Regions from separate parts of the Homo sapiens genome. Here region 1 is linked to region 2. Evidence: promoter capture Hi-C in human tissues and cell types (Jung and others, 2019). All regions are on one chromosome and are shown on one strand. Each heading gives the region's core, a stretch centred on a gene start or on the middle of the fragment in contact. The rest is flanking DNA. Distances are from core to core; before and after follow the strand shown.

Region 1 (6,334 bases), core at 128-2,627, 160 kb before region 2:
TGAGGATGTAGATGTCGCTCTATTCAGCCTTTTAACACATCTTTCCATGTCCATTTTCTTGTTTTTTTTTTTTTTGAAGCTATTTACTGAAATAGACTCTAAATTTACTAAAGCCTGAAGTCCCACTGCTCGTCTTAGTTCAAGAGCTAAGACTTGAAGCAGTGGAAGGGAATAATTCACTTCTGTTGCCTCAGTAACAGGCTCTCTATAATCAGGGTTGGTTTGATTATGGTCTAGGATTAATATCCCCGGGGTTGTGCTGGCCTTGATATATAAATATATAAACAGCAAAATTTACTAGAAGATTCATTCATCAATGCTTTTATGAGGCTAGAAGTTCAGTTTAAAAGGCAAATCAGGCTTGGCTCAGTGGGTCACACCTGTAATCCCAACACTTTGGGAGGCTGAGGTGGGCAGATCACCTGAGGTCAGGAGTTCAAGACCAGCCTGGCCAACATGGCGAAACCCCATCTCTACTAAAAATAGAAAAATTAGCCAGGTGTGGTGGCAGTTGCCTGTAATCCCAGCTGCTAGGGAGGCTGAGGCAGGAGAATCGCTTGAACCTGGGAGGAGGAGGTTGCAGTGAACCACGATTGTGCCACTGCACTCCAGCTTGGGTGACGAGCAAGACAGTGTCTAAAAAAAAAAAAAAAAAAAAGAAAAAAAAAAAAAGAGTGCCTGTGCAGGAAGCCTACCTTTTTGCTAAAATTATAATCTGTGTTTTGGGTGTCTCTGTAAACTGTCTTGGTATTGTCTAGTTACTTTGTTGTTCTGATTGCAACGTTCTGTGATTGGATTAGCTGCAAAAGGTATAGCAAGCCTCTAAGGACCATCATCTTGCTATCATTTTATACCTTCTTTCTTGAAGTCCTTTTTATCCAAAACGCCCCCTACCCTTCTGCCATTAGTTCAGTCCTACGATATAGCAATACCACTAAGTATGAACTTGAAGCTCACTTTATTTTATGCTTCTCTTTGATTATCACAGCTCTTAAGGAACCACTTTGAGACAGAAATGGTAAAAAATTAAAAAATCAAAATTAAACCAAATATAAAACACAATGAAGATGCATATGTCAATGAGCTTGTCTACTTTGTTGACCAGCTTCGCTTCACATGTACCCTAGCCAGAGACCTCTGCCAAGTTCTTGGCACTCACTCCATCTAAGAATAGGCTGTCACATACGCTGCACCAGATATTCCAAACTACAGCAACCTGATGTGCTAAAATGCCCCACCAAGTATAAGAGTTACATATGAAAATATTGCAGTATAAGAACATTTGACCACAGAAAACTAATTAACACAAACATTTCCCAAATGTAGAAATGATTAGTCTTTTTCAATAGAGAAGTTATTTTAGAACCGAATCAACTATTTTATGCTGTTTCTTATAAATAGGCAGCTGTGTTGAGTTTTTGATACTAGTTCTTCTACAAGTGGACTTTTTGTAGCATAATCAGAGATAACAAAAGAGGAAATAAATGTTCATTTGGACATAACTATAAGAAGAATTGCAATTTCTAAGAATGGAGAGGCAGTCTCTCTATTGTATCTTTTGGAGTCTCTTCATTCTTAAAAGTTGTAATTCCTCTTGATGATGTCAAGAACATTCTCTGCCATAGAAAATTACCTTGTCTTTTGTTTTACTCTGATGCTTAGGCCTCCCATAACAGTGATGCATGCTCTGTTGGGAGAAGGAAGCTTAGGCTGTAAATTTAAGCATTTTAATCAGTAAAGGTTTGCTCTGGGGAAACACATTCGTTTCAGTGAATGTTATTCACTGACAAAAAAAGTAGGTATTTTCATAGCTGTGAAAGATATCTGGTTGATGACTGAAAAACTATTTTGGTTTGTGGAATTTTTTTTTTTTTTTTTTTTAATGAAACCTACAGGAATTTACAGGAATAAGATTAGGTTCCAAACTGAAATTGAGAGTGATTATAATCTTCAGATTGCCCTGGATTTTCACACATTGGCAGTAAACTCATTTACAGATTAACTTCTTGTACTCTTGGGGTTACTCTCTCCCCATTCTGGTTATAATGGCTTGCCTCCAGTGTGGACAAGGTAGAAGATGGGTAGATGCCTGTGGAAATCAGAATACAGTAATTTGCATCAGATTTACTGTGTCCTTTTATCCTGGTTGGCAGGAATACATGGTTTACAGGAAGCATACCTACATGAGGCTTGATGGCTCATCCAAGATCTCGGAGAGGCGAGACATGGTTGCTGATTTTCAGAACAGGTAATGTTCATGGGAATTACAAAAATTATCTTTTTAATTTCCCTCTAGTGCTTGAAATGGTAAGTTTTTTTTTTTTTTTAAATGCCAGGACATCTGAGATTGTTAAGGAATCAAGATGTAATTCCTGCCATTTTAAGAAGTTACTAAATCTGCTTATCATAATTCAGATCTATGTGTCTGGGAGAGAAAAAGAGAATATACCTGATAGTTTGTATGTTTGAAGTATGCTTTCTTATGACACCAGTGCCTATTTCTTTGGATAATAAAAGAAATCATTTCTAAGTATGAACCAAGATCCTCCTCAATGGATAATAGGTATGTAGAAAAAAATCCACCAGCCTGTATTCCTCATTGCTTACAGTAGCCATTTCTTTTTTTTTTTTTTTTTTTTTGTGTGTGTGAGACAGTCTCTCCCTGTCACCCAGGCTGGAGTGCAGTGGCATGATCTCAGCTCACTGCAGCCTCCGCCTCCCCGGTTCAAACAATTCTTGTGCCTCGGCCTCCCAAGTAGCTGGGATTACAGACATGCGCCACCACATCCAGCTAATTTTTGTATTTTTAGTAGGGACAGGATTTCACCATGTTGGCCAGACTGGTCTTGAAATCCTGGGCTCAAGTGATCCACCCACTTCCACCTCCCAAAGTGCTAGGATTATAGGGATGAACCAGTGATCCCGGCCACTAACAGTAGCACTTTCTGAGTAATGACTTAAAGTTATTAGTTTGTTTCTGTGTTTCATTTTGTATAAGAAAAAGTACCTTTTATTTTCCTGCTTTCCTTTTAACATAGTAGCAGTACAGTGCCTTATGACAAATTGCAATACTGTACAATCTACTCAGCTGGCAGCTCTCAGCCACAGTACCTCTCCCACCTGCTAATGAGCCTATGAAATTTCAATTACTGCCTGCTGAATGCTGATGGTTTACCGAGCCATAATTATCCTGAGTGCAGCTTCTCATTGTAATAGGTAGAGTCTGGTTACTGCTTTCTCCAAGGAGAAAGCCAGGCTCCACTAGTGACGGGTCTGTTGAACTTCGTCTTCAGTTTTCCTCCTTAGACCTGGAGAGCCAAGGAATAAAGCAGATCTTAATGTCAGTAAATCAGAACAGCTTTGACTTTGGCTTTTAATTGCATGGCCTCTTAATATTTCACTTCTGAATTCTTATTAAGAAAATTAAGCACATAGCCATTTTATTTAGATTACAATTTTTAATTCCATTCAGTTCTAAAGCATAGTTTAATTCAGACATAAAATAATTTGGCATAAAACACATCCACAATTCAACATAGAGTGTCCTCTGTTTAAAGAATTTTTCCTAAGTTAAAACTACACACCAGAATTCCAGGTGCCTGTTTGACCAACAATAAGGAGAAGATCTGCTTCAAACCCGTTTCCATTTGTTACCCTCGTGCAGCTGTGTGGATAGCCTAACCTAGCTTCTCACCTAGCGGAAGCTACCAGTAGATTCTAAAACCAATTATTTGAAACATAAGCATTGTGCCTCCTTATTCCACCACATTGTTTTGGCAAAAAGAGGAAAAAAAATTACTGGGTGATCTTCATCTTTTCTTAATTCTGAAATCAGTGATACATATTTTATCATGTCATGTCCTTACCTACTCCAGCCTCAGAGCTGCAACTTGACAAGAATCTTATGTGCGAGCTATAGACTGTATGTTTCCTCAGAGTGCCTGTATTTTCTCCAGTCATGCCAGTATATCTGTGATGTGGGCATACTGGTATGGGGTGGCATGCTTTGTGAATTATGAGAAAAGCCATTAAGTAATAGGTATTTCACCTGATACTGTTTTTATTTTCCACTAGTATATTTGATACTGTACATTTAAGGATCTTTTTAACAGTAATGTTTTGTTTTTCTTCAGTAACAGTTGGGGACTTTATAGATTATAATGAAATGCCTATTGAGAAAAATTTGAAAAATATTTAAAGATGAAAATAAAGTCCAGGCACAGTGGCTCACGCCTGTAATCCCAGCACTTTGGGAGGCCGAGGTGGGCGGGTCATCTGAGGTCAGGAGTTCGAGACCAGCCCAGCCAACATGGTGAAACCCCGTCTCTACTAAAAATACAAAAATTAGCTGGGCGTGGTGGTGGGCGCCTGTAATCCCAGCTACTCGGGAGGCTGAGGCAGGAGAATCACTTGAATTCGGGAGTTGGAGGTTAGAGTGAGCAGAGATCCACCACTCCACTCCAGCCTGGGTGACAGAGCGAGACTCCATCTCAAAAAAAAAAAAAAGAAAAGAAAAGAAAAATCACCCACAATCCCACTACTTTTAACATTTTGGTATATCCTCTAGTCTTTAATGTATGTATAGGGTTATATTTATACTATTATATTATAGGTGGGATTTTGTATCCTGATTTCTTCTACTTAATATTCTGTCATAACCATTTTCATATATCATTAAAAAGCCTTTGCCAACAACTTTTGTTTTTGTTTTTGTTTTTTCTGAGACAGAGTCTCGCTCTGTCACCCAGGCTGGAGTGCAGTGGCGTGATCTTGGCTCACTGCAACCTCCACCTCCTGGGTTCAAGCGATTCTCCTGCCTCAGCCTCCCGAGTAGCTGGGACTACAGGCGCCTGCCACCACGCCTGGCTAATTTTTTGTATTTTTGTATTTTTGTATTTTTAGTAGAGACAAGGTTTCACTATGTTAGCCAGGATGGTCTCAATCTCCTGACCTCATGATCCACCCGCCTCGGCCTCCCAGAATGCTGGGATTACAGGCGTGAGCCACCGCATCCAGCCTTGCCGACAACATTTTTAATGATCACTATTCTGTTAACACTGGGTATATATACCACTTTTCTATTGAATAGAAATATCTACTAGAAATGTTGAGTGAATATTTTTGTGTATAAAGCTTTGTCACTATTTTAGATTACTGTCTTAGCATAGATTCAAACATGGGAAATTACTGAGTGAAAGGATAAGAACATTTAAGACTATGTATATTTCTTTGTAGAAAATTCTGCTAATATAGACCCCAACCAGAGCTGTAGTATGTTGACTTCTAGTGATTTGGGCTTCTGAGTTTTAGAGCCGCAGTCGTTCTCCTGGCTTACCCAATTATTAGAAAACTGGGCTGTGAGACCCAGGGCTCAGTATATTTTGCAGTACCTTTGTGGTGGAAAAAAATCAGGAGGTGTATAATTTATTACCTCTGAAATATCTTACTTAACTTGGGAAGCAGAATTACTTGGGCAGTCCCAGTAGTAGTGCACAATGATTTTGAAAAGTTTAGCTCTAAAAGAGTGGCATTTTCACCATTAAATTTTACTTGGCTCTACTTAGTAAAAATGTAATTTTTCACAGATTTTATTAGGAAATCTTGCTTGAGCCTTCAGACTCTACAACTTAGAATTACTTAGGTAACAGTGAATGTTATTTAGAGTCAACATTTGGGTAACCATCATTTTAACACCCTCTGTCTAATATTGGGCAAAATGGAAAAAGAGACTAAAGTCTCCTTCTGATCCCTGCCTACATTACAAACTGGTTGCTTAGAGTTGGGATTATGGCAAAGAAGTAATCTATTTCTCATGTGTAGAATCTGGACTATGCATATGCTGACCCCTCCAAAGGGCGGAAAATGCTCAACTTATAAATTTGAGTGACTGCAATCGCCTGATATAGAGAAAAAGACAGGTGTTTTTGGACACAAGCACTCCTTCCCAAATATTTTAATTACTGTTAATGAAGGACATCAAAAGAAAAAATTGCAGTTTCAACTGGAAAGCCCTGTGGTCAAAGGTCAGCCAGAGTAAACAACAACGCCTATAAAAAGCCATTTACATTCCTTTCATACAAGATTTATTTATGAAGGATCCTTCCAGGAAAAAGTCTGACTGAGACTAAAGACTGTTTGGCCAGGATGTCCTGACGGGGCAGCATTCAGGGCATGTGACCAGTGCGTGATCCTGGAAGCCATTCACAAGGTCTTTGCTCTGTGGTGCTTTGGCCTTTGCTTCCCTTCCTCCTAACCCATGACCTTTACCAAATGGATCCTCTCCCCATTATCTGACCACTCAGTGTGACTCTTTGGAAAACATGAGGAAAAAGTG
Region 2 (5,847 bases), core at 2,639-5,138:
TAGCGAGCTGGGAGGAGCGCAGTCCTCCCTCCTTGCATTTTGTAGAAAGAAGACAGACTACTTAGCAGTCTGCCTAGCAGACAGACAGGCTAGCCCCACCAGGCCCCCAGAGTGGAAGTAGCATGCAGAGTGATGCATCAGACTTTGAGCTGAATCAGGGGCTGAATCCCACCCCAACACAACTCAGTCCTCTCCAAGCCCCAGCCCCCAGGACCAAGGAGCAGGTACCTTGCCTTACCACTCCCTTCCTCCCACCCGCAAGAGAGCAAAGGGCTAGAGTGGCAATAAAACCAGCCCCTCCCCCAGTTAGTTACCAGGTCTCAGGACCTCAGGGAAGTGCAGACTCCGCCTCCTAAGCCACTCCTTCATAGGACTGGGGAGGAGGAGAGGTGGGGGAAGAGAAGGGGAGAAGAGGAAGTGCAAGCTGCTCCGCCTCCAGCTGCAGGAATCTGTACTGGCCTGGCCTGGCCACAGGCAGAAGGAGGAACAAACAAACCCATTCTGGGGAGCATTTATCTATGCAATAGGAGAATCAAAGGTTTGGAAGCTCTCAGTGCCCGTGACCCACGTCACCCAACCCACCTCATCCACCCTAGCCCTTAATGGCTCTACCCTGTCATTACCCACCTCCAACCTCTCTAACTGGACCCAGGTGAGAATAAACCCCTTGACACACACACAGCTTTTTCCTCTTCCCAAAGCACTGCAGCACTCTAAGAATGGCCTAGAATGGCCTGGAGCTCATACTAAGTCCAAGCCCTACCTGCCTCCCTCAATGTCCCAGGAAATCCCCACTCCACCCTCTCTTGTGGCAAACAGGCAGGTCCTGGGGGTTTCCAGATGAGGATGGCTGGTCTCAAGACCATGGGGCCATAGTCCAGCTAAGCTCCCTGACCAGACTCCAGAATTTCACACTCTGGCTCTGGAGAGGGACTCCCATGGGGCCTCTGTGGAGCAGGAAGGGCATGAGCAACTCAGGTCAGTAAGAGTCATCACCACCTACACTTTCTGCTACTTCCTTGTGGAACAGGCTGCAGCCCTGGTTCAGTGGGACTTGGTGGCCCAGACTGGCCCTCAGATATGTCCCCCTCCCATCCACAGGAATCCCCATCTCGCCTCTCCTCAGAGACCCAGGAGAGCTACTGGAAGGATAGGGAGGAAAGAGGACCCTCCTTAGCCTGGCAGAGAGACTAGCCCAGGAAAAGTCTGCGGAGGAAAGCCCTTTCTCCACTTTCCAGAACGGAGACCACCCCCAGATGTGGCCCCAGCCCAGTTCTGGCCCCCAAACTCCCCAATCCCCGGTTCTGTTATCCACTGGGCTATTTTGGGTCAGAATGCTAGGTTTTTACCAGAGAGATGGTCTTGTGTGAAAAACAGCACAGGACTTTTTTTGGAGGTCTCCCCTGGGGTGAATCTCAGGCCTACCATTTATGGGCAGTGTTACCCTGGGCAAATTCTTTAACATGGGAGTCTTAGTTTCCTAATCTAAAAAGTGGGATGACTGCTAGTAGCACCCTTTTTGGAAGTTGTTGTGATGAGGCCTGAGTGAGAGGATGTGTGGCACAGCAATCAGTAAGCTGTAAAGTGCTCACAGAGGTTATGAGAGGTGACCTACCCCTGCCCTGGAGCCCCACCTGGCCAGAACAGCAGGTAGAGAGAAAGGGGGAACCAAGGCTCTGGACTGGCCCTGATCCCAGCAGACAGTTCAGTCCGGGGAAGAAAGAGGAGGAGCCCTGGCCTCCGCTTTGCCTTTATCTATGGAAGTAAACAAGGTTTGGCTACCAGATTCTAAGCAGGGAGAGCCCTGTCTGGCTCATGCGCATGCACACACACCTGCCTGGACAGCTGACATCCCTTCCCTACTAGGTATACATACCAACAGGCTGACTCACCCCACAACCCTCCTCATCCCCCACCCCAGAGCCTCTAGGCTTCTGTGCCTACAACATCACTTCTCTCCCTTTGGATCAACCGCAGACTGGGCTTGTTTTCTAGTCTCGGATCTGGCAGTCTTCCTGGACCACCAAAAGGCCAATGCATTCCTAGGGGGTAGAGAGATGCTAAGCAGTCCCAAGTCCAGCCAGTGGAGGAGACTATGGCCAGGCTCACCTGACAGGGCATCGGTGTGCCCAGACCAGTGCTTGGCCAAGGTGCCTTTCTAGTCACCAGACCATCCAGACAGCTCACTCCTTCAATCAGCCTATCAGTGCCAGAGGTCAGGAGTCCTGGGGACTTCCTCTCCCCTCCAGTACACACAGCCCAGAGCCAAAGGCCTCCCTGTGAGCACCAGCCCATCACCTCTGAACATCCTGAGTTCAGGAGCCAGAGCCTGGGCCCTGCCCTCCCTACTCATGTCCCCTTTCATTTGTTTACTGTTTGTACTGCCTACTACCGATGTGAAGGCGATCTGGCTGTGACATCTGTCACCCCATTGATCACCAGGCTTGATTCGGCTGTACTGCCTACTTCTAAGGAGGGCTTCAGGTAGAAATAATCCCAGCACTTTGGGAGGCCAAGGTGGGTGGATCACCTGAGTTCAGAAGTTCAAGACCAGCCTGGCCAACATAGTGAAACCCCGTCTGTACCAAAAAAAAAAAAAAAAAAAAAAAAAAAAAAATTAGCCGGGTCTGGTAGCGGGTGCCTGTAGTTCCAGCTACTCCGGAGGCTGAGACAGAAGAATCACTTGAACGTGGAAGACGGAGGTTGCAGTGAGCAACCAGAGATTGCGCCATTGCACTCCAGCCTGGGCGACAAGAGCGAGACTCCGTCGCAAAAAAAAAGAAAGAAAAAGAAAAAAAAAAGTGAACTCTCCTTAACTCCTCTCTGATGTTCGTCTCCCCTAGGACCCCATAACCAGTCCCTTTTTTGAGTCTCTCCAAACCCATCCATCTTGGCACCCTCCTCACCTCCAAAGCCCTGGGTCCGCAGCTGGCGGTAGGAGCGGTACACTTCCCTCGTGAGGTAGTTGATGAAGCCCTCCCTGGGCGCGAACTTGCACACGAAGTTCTGCTCGTAGAGGCAGTTGATGAGGAAGCAGGCGGCGATGGCGTCCTCCCCGCGGTCGGGCTGCAGCTCCACTAGCGCCAAGTTGCAGTTCTGGGTGGTGCAGCAGGCGCGCACGCAGTCCCAGCCCCGGCGCACGGTGGGGGACTCCAGGAAGGTAGCTCCGTTGCTGACCGAGGCGTTGGTGTCCAGCACGAAGCCAGGCACCCCGGCGGTAAAGCTGTTCAGGCAGTCGGCTCCCGCGGGCAGCCCAGGGGGCGCGGGCGGTGGCCCGGCCTGGGTGCCCTGGAGGCCGAGCGTGCACAGAAGCCACAAGGCGACGGCAGGGATGCCGGCCGGGGCGAGGCGGGCGCGGGCCATCGTCCTCGCAGGGGCCATCGCCTTCCTCCCCAGGGGGGTCACCTTCAGAGCGCGGGCCTCTGGGTTCCGAGGGTGCTGGTGACCTGAGAAGAAGGGAGGGGACAGAGGAGGAGACACACCTGATCAGCCCGGGAGACTTTGGAGGAGGCGGGCCGGCCGGGAGGAAGTGGCGGGGAGGAGGGACCGGAGCACCCCAGGATCGAAGAGGGCGCACGGGCCCGGCCCTCCCACGCGCCCTCCAGGGACCCGGCAGCCAGACAGACGGACAGGCGGACCGCTAGGGAGCTCAAGTACCCGGACACACGCACGAGCGCAGAACAAAGGGCCGGACATGCTCCAGCCCGCTCCGCCTGCGCCTCGGCCTTGCGCGCGGGGGCCCGGGTTACCTGCGCAGGTGAGTTGGGTGGGGCCGGGTCCGCCGAGGTTCCGGTCCCAGCTTCCTGCGCGGCTCGGGTCGCGGCTTCCGACCCGGTGCTCGGAGAGCTGGGGCTCGGCCGCCTTCTCCCCCTGGTTTCTGGTGAAACTGAGTCAGCGCCGTCGGGGCGGGGCCGACATTCACCCTTGCGCTGCCGGCCCCGCCCACGCCCGGTGCGCTGCGGCCGCCTCTAGCGCGGAGCTCCAGGCCCGGCCCGCCCCGCGGCCCCGCAGCCCCGGTGCCTCCCCGGCAGCCAGCTCCCCGGAGGGGCTCTCGGGCTCCACCCAGTCCAGCCTCGCGAGGGAGCCCCGCGCCCGAAGCGCATACCCAGCCGGGAGGGGATGCGGCCGGGACGCGAGGGTCCGGCCTCTGGGGCGGCGGCCTCCAGTCTTCCTTTCCGGCCGGGGCCTGCTTTCCCAGCCCCAGACCTGAGGCCCGATGCAAATGATCTTTCCGGCCCTCAGGAAATCATTTCCATTTCGTGGCGGGAAGGTAACCCAAAAGTTGCGTGGCTGCACCTGTGATAACAGGGATCCGGGATGTCTGCCTCACTGTCAGCTCCGGGAAGCCCTCCCTGCTGTCAGGGTGAGAAACGGAGGCGATTCCCCGCGTCCAGGCTCCCCTGCGTGCTCCACGGGGCTTCCCTGTTGTTCGAGGCCCCTCCTCATCTTGTATGTACAGTTCGGTCCATTCCCTGCTATGGCTCATTGGACTGTTGCCCCCTTCCCTGGAGCCCAGGCTTCCTCTCTTTCACAAAGGGGACGCTGCTGGCTACTTTCTTCCAGGGAAATGTCATCCTTGGAAGCCTGGAGGTTCCAGTTCACCAAGTAGCTGAGTTAATGCCCTTCACGAAACAGTGGACTCCTTGAAGCCAAGCTCATTGCTCCTCCTGAGTAAAAAACTCTTAAGAGACCATTCTCTACGGCAAGGGTCTGAACAGGTGAAAGACAGATGAAGGCAGGGCTGGAGGAAGGAATCACATAGCATGCTCTCTTAAAATACAGATTCCAAACCTTTTCCTGATGGCTTAACAACCCCCAAACCAATGGGAACATTCTTCCCAGTTTCTCATCCAGAGCAGCTTTGCCTAGCAGATCCTGTGGCCAACCCTTGGATTTTGCTGAACTGCAACATCCTCCAGCTGCTCACATGATGCGTGTTGGGGTGGGAATCTGGGGCCTGTCTCCCCTTCTCTGGATGTTTAGGGTTTATCCACAGACCCTGGCACACTGGTGGATATACAACAATGGTGGTATGCTGGGAATGAAGAAAATGATTGTGCAGTCACTGGGAAGAAAGGGTTTTGTTGTGATTTGATTTCCCCTTATGGCTAACACATTCAAGAATCTTTATTTATTTATTTATTTATTTTTTTTTTTTTTTTTTTGAGACGGAGTCTTGCTCTGTCACCCAGGCTGGAGTGCAATGGCACGATCTCGGCTCACTGCAACCTCTGCCTTCCAGATTCAGGAAATTCTGCCTCAGCCTCCCAAGTAGCTGGGCTTACAGGTGGGCACCACCACGCCGAGCTAATTTTTGTATTTTTAGTAGAAACGAGGTTTCACCTTTTTGGCCAGGCTGGTCTTGAACTCCTGACCTCAGGTGATCCACCCACCTCGGCCTCCCAAAGTGCTAGGATTATAGGCGTGAGCCACTGTGCCTGACCTCAAGAATCTTAATACAGGAAAATATTACCTTATGGTAATATTACATCACCATAAATTTATCATTACATCCATTATACACACCATTATAAAAACCAACATGAATTCAGCACTGACAATGCCCAAACTCTGTTCCTAAGCACTGCCCACATATTACCCTATACTCAAAACAAACCTAGGGAGGTAGTATTTTTAGCCCCATTTTACAAATGAGCAAACAGGCTCAGACAGGTAAACTGACTTGTCAGGTCATTCAGCATTGAAGCGGCAGAGTAGGGATTGGAGCCCAGGCAGGCCAATTCCATGGCTTCAGTGCTTAAACCCTGGGCTTTATGGCCTTTGCAATTCTGACTTCATCTGGAAGTTCTGCCCTCACCTCAGATTCAACTTGCTTAAACCCATAAC

Evidence for each region. Contacts are between HindIII fragments. The study calls those that stand out against the background at their distance.
Region 1: a fragment that was not itself captured here is called in contact with the fragment with the promoter of SPINT1 in region 2 in 2 of the 25 tissues and cell types used here (bladder and spleen).

Annotation. Positions count from the first base shown.
Region 1 is chr15:41,001,507-41,007,840 of GRCh38, reverse strand. INO80 (INO80 complex ATPase subunit) reads left to right here. Exons shown (of 36, transcript NM_017553.3): 28 at 2,154-2,248. LOC105376713 (a long non-coding RNA gene) reads right to left here. Exons shown (of 2, transcript XR_001751508.2): 2 at 2,983-3,308. Among named protein-coding and RNA genes, the nearest start is that of INO80-AS1, 12 kb to the left of the region's middle. The HindIII fragment of the contact is 4,085 bases long and covers 1-3,419 here.
Region 2 is chr15:40,842,089-40,847,935 of GRCh38, reverse strand. It overlaps SPINT1 (serine peptidase inhibitor, Kunitz type 1), which reads right to left and starts at 3,888. Exons shown (of 11, transcript NM_003710.4): 1 at 3,750-3,888; 2 at 2,907-3,446. The coding sequence starts at 3,381. It overlaps SPINT1-AS1 (SPINT1 antisense RNA 1), which reads left to right and starts at 3,412. Exons shown (of 2, transcript NR_146468.1): 1 at 3,412-3,757. RefSeq lists silencers at 3,207-3,446, 3,737-3,796, 3,877-4,106, 4,268-4,450 and an enhancer at 3,744-4,315. The HindIII fragment of the contact is 27,771 bases long and covers 1-5,847 here.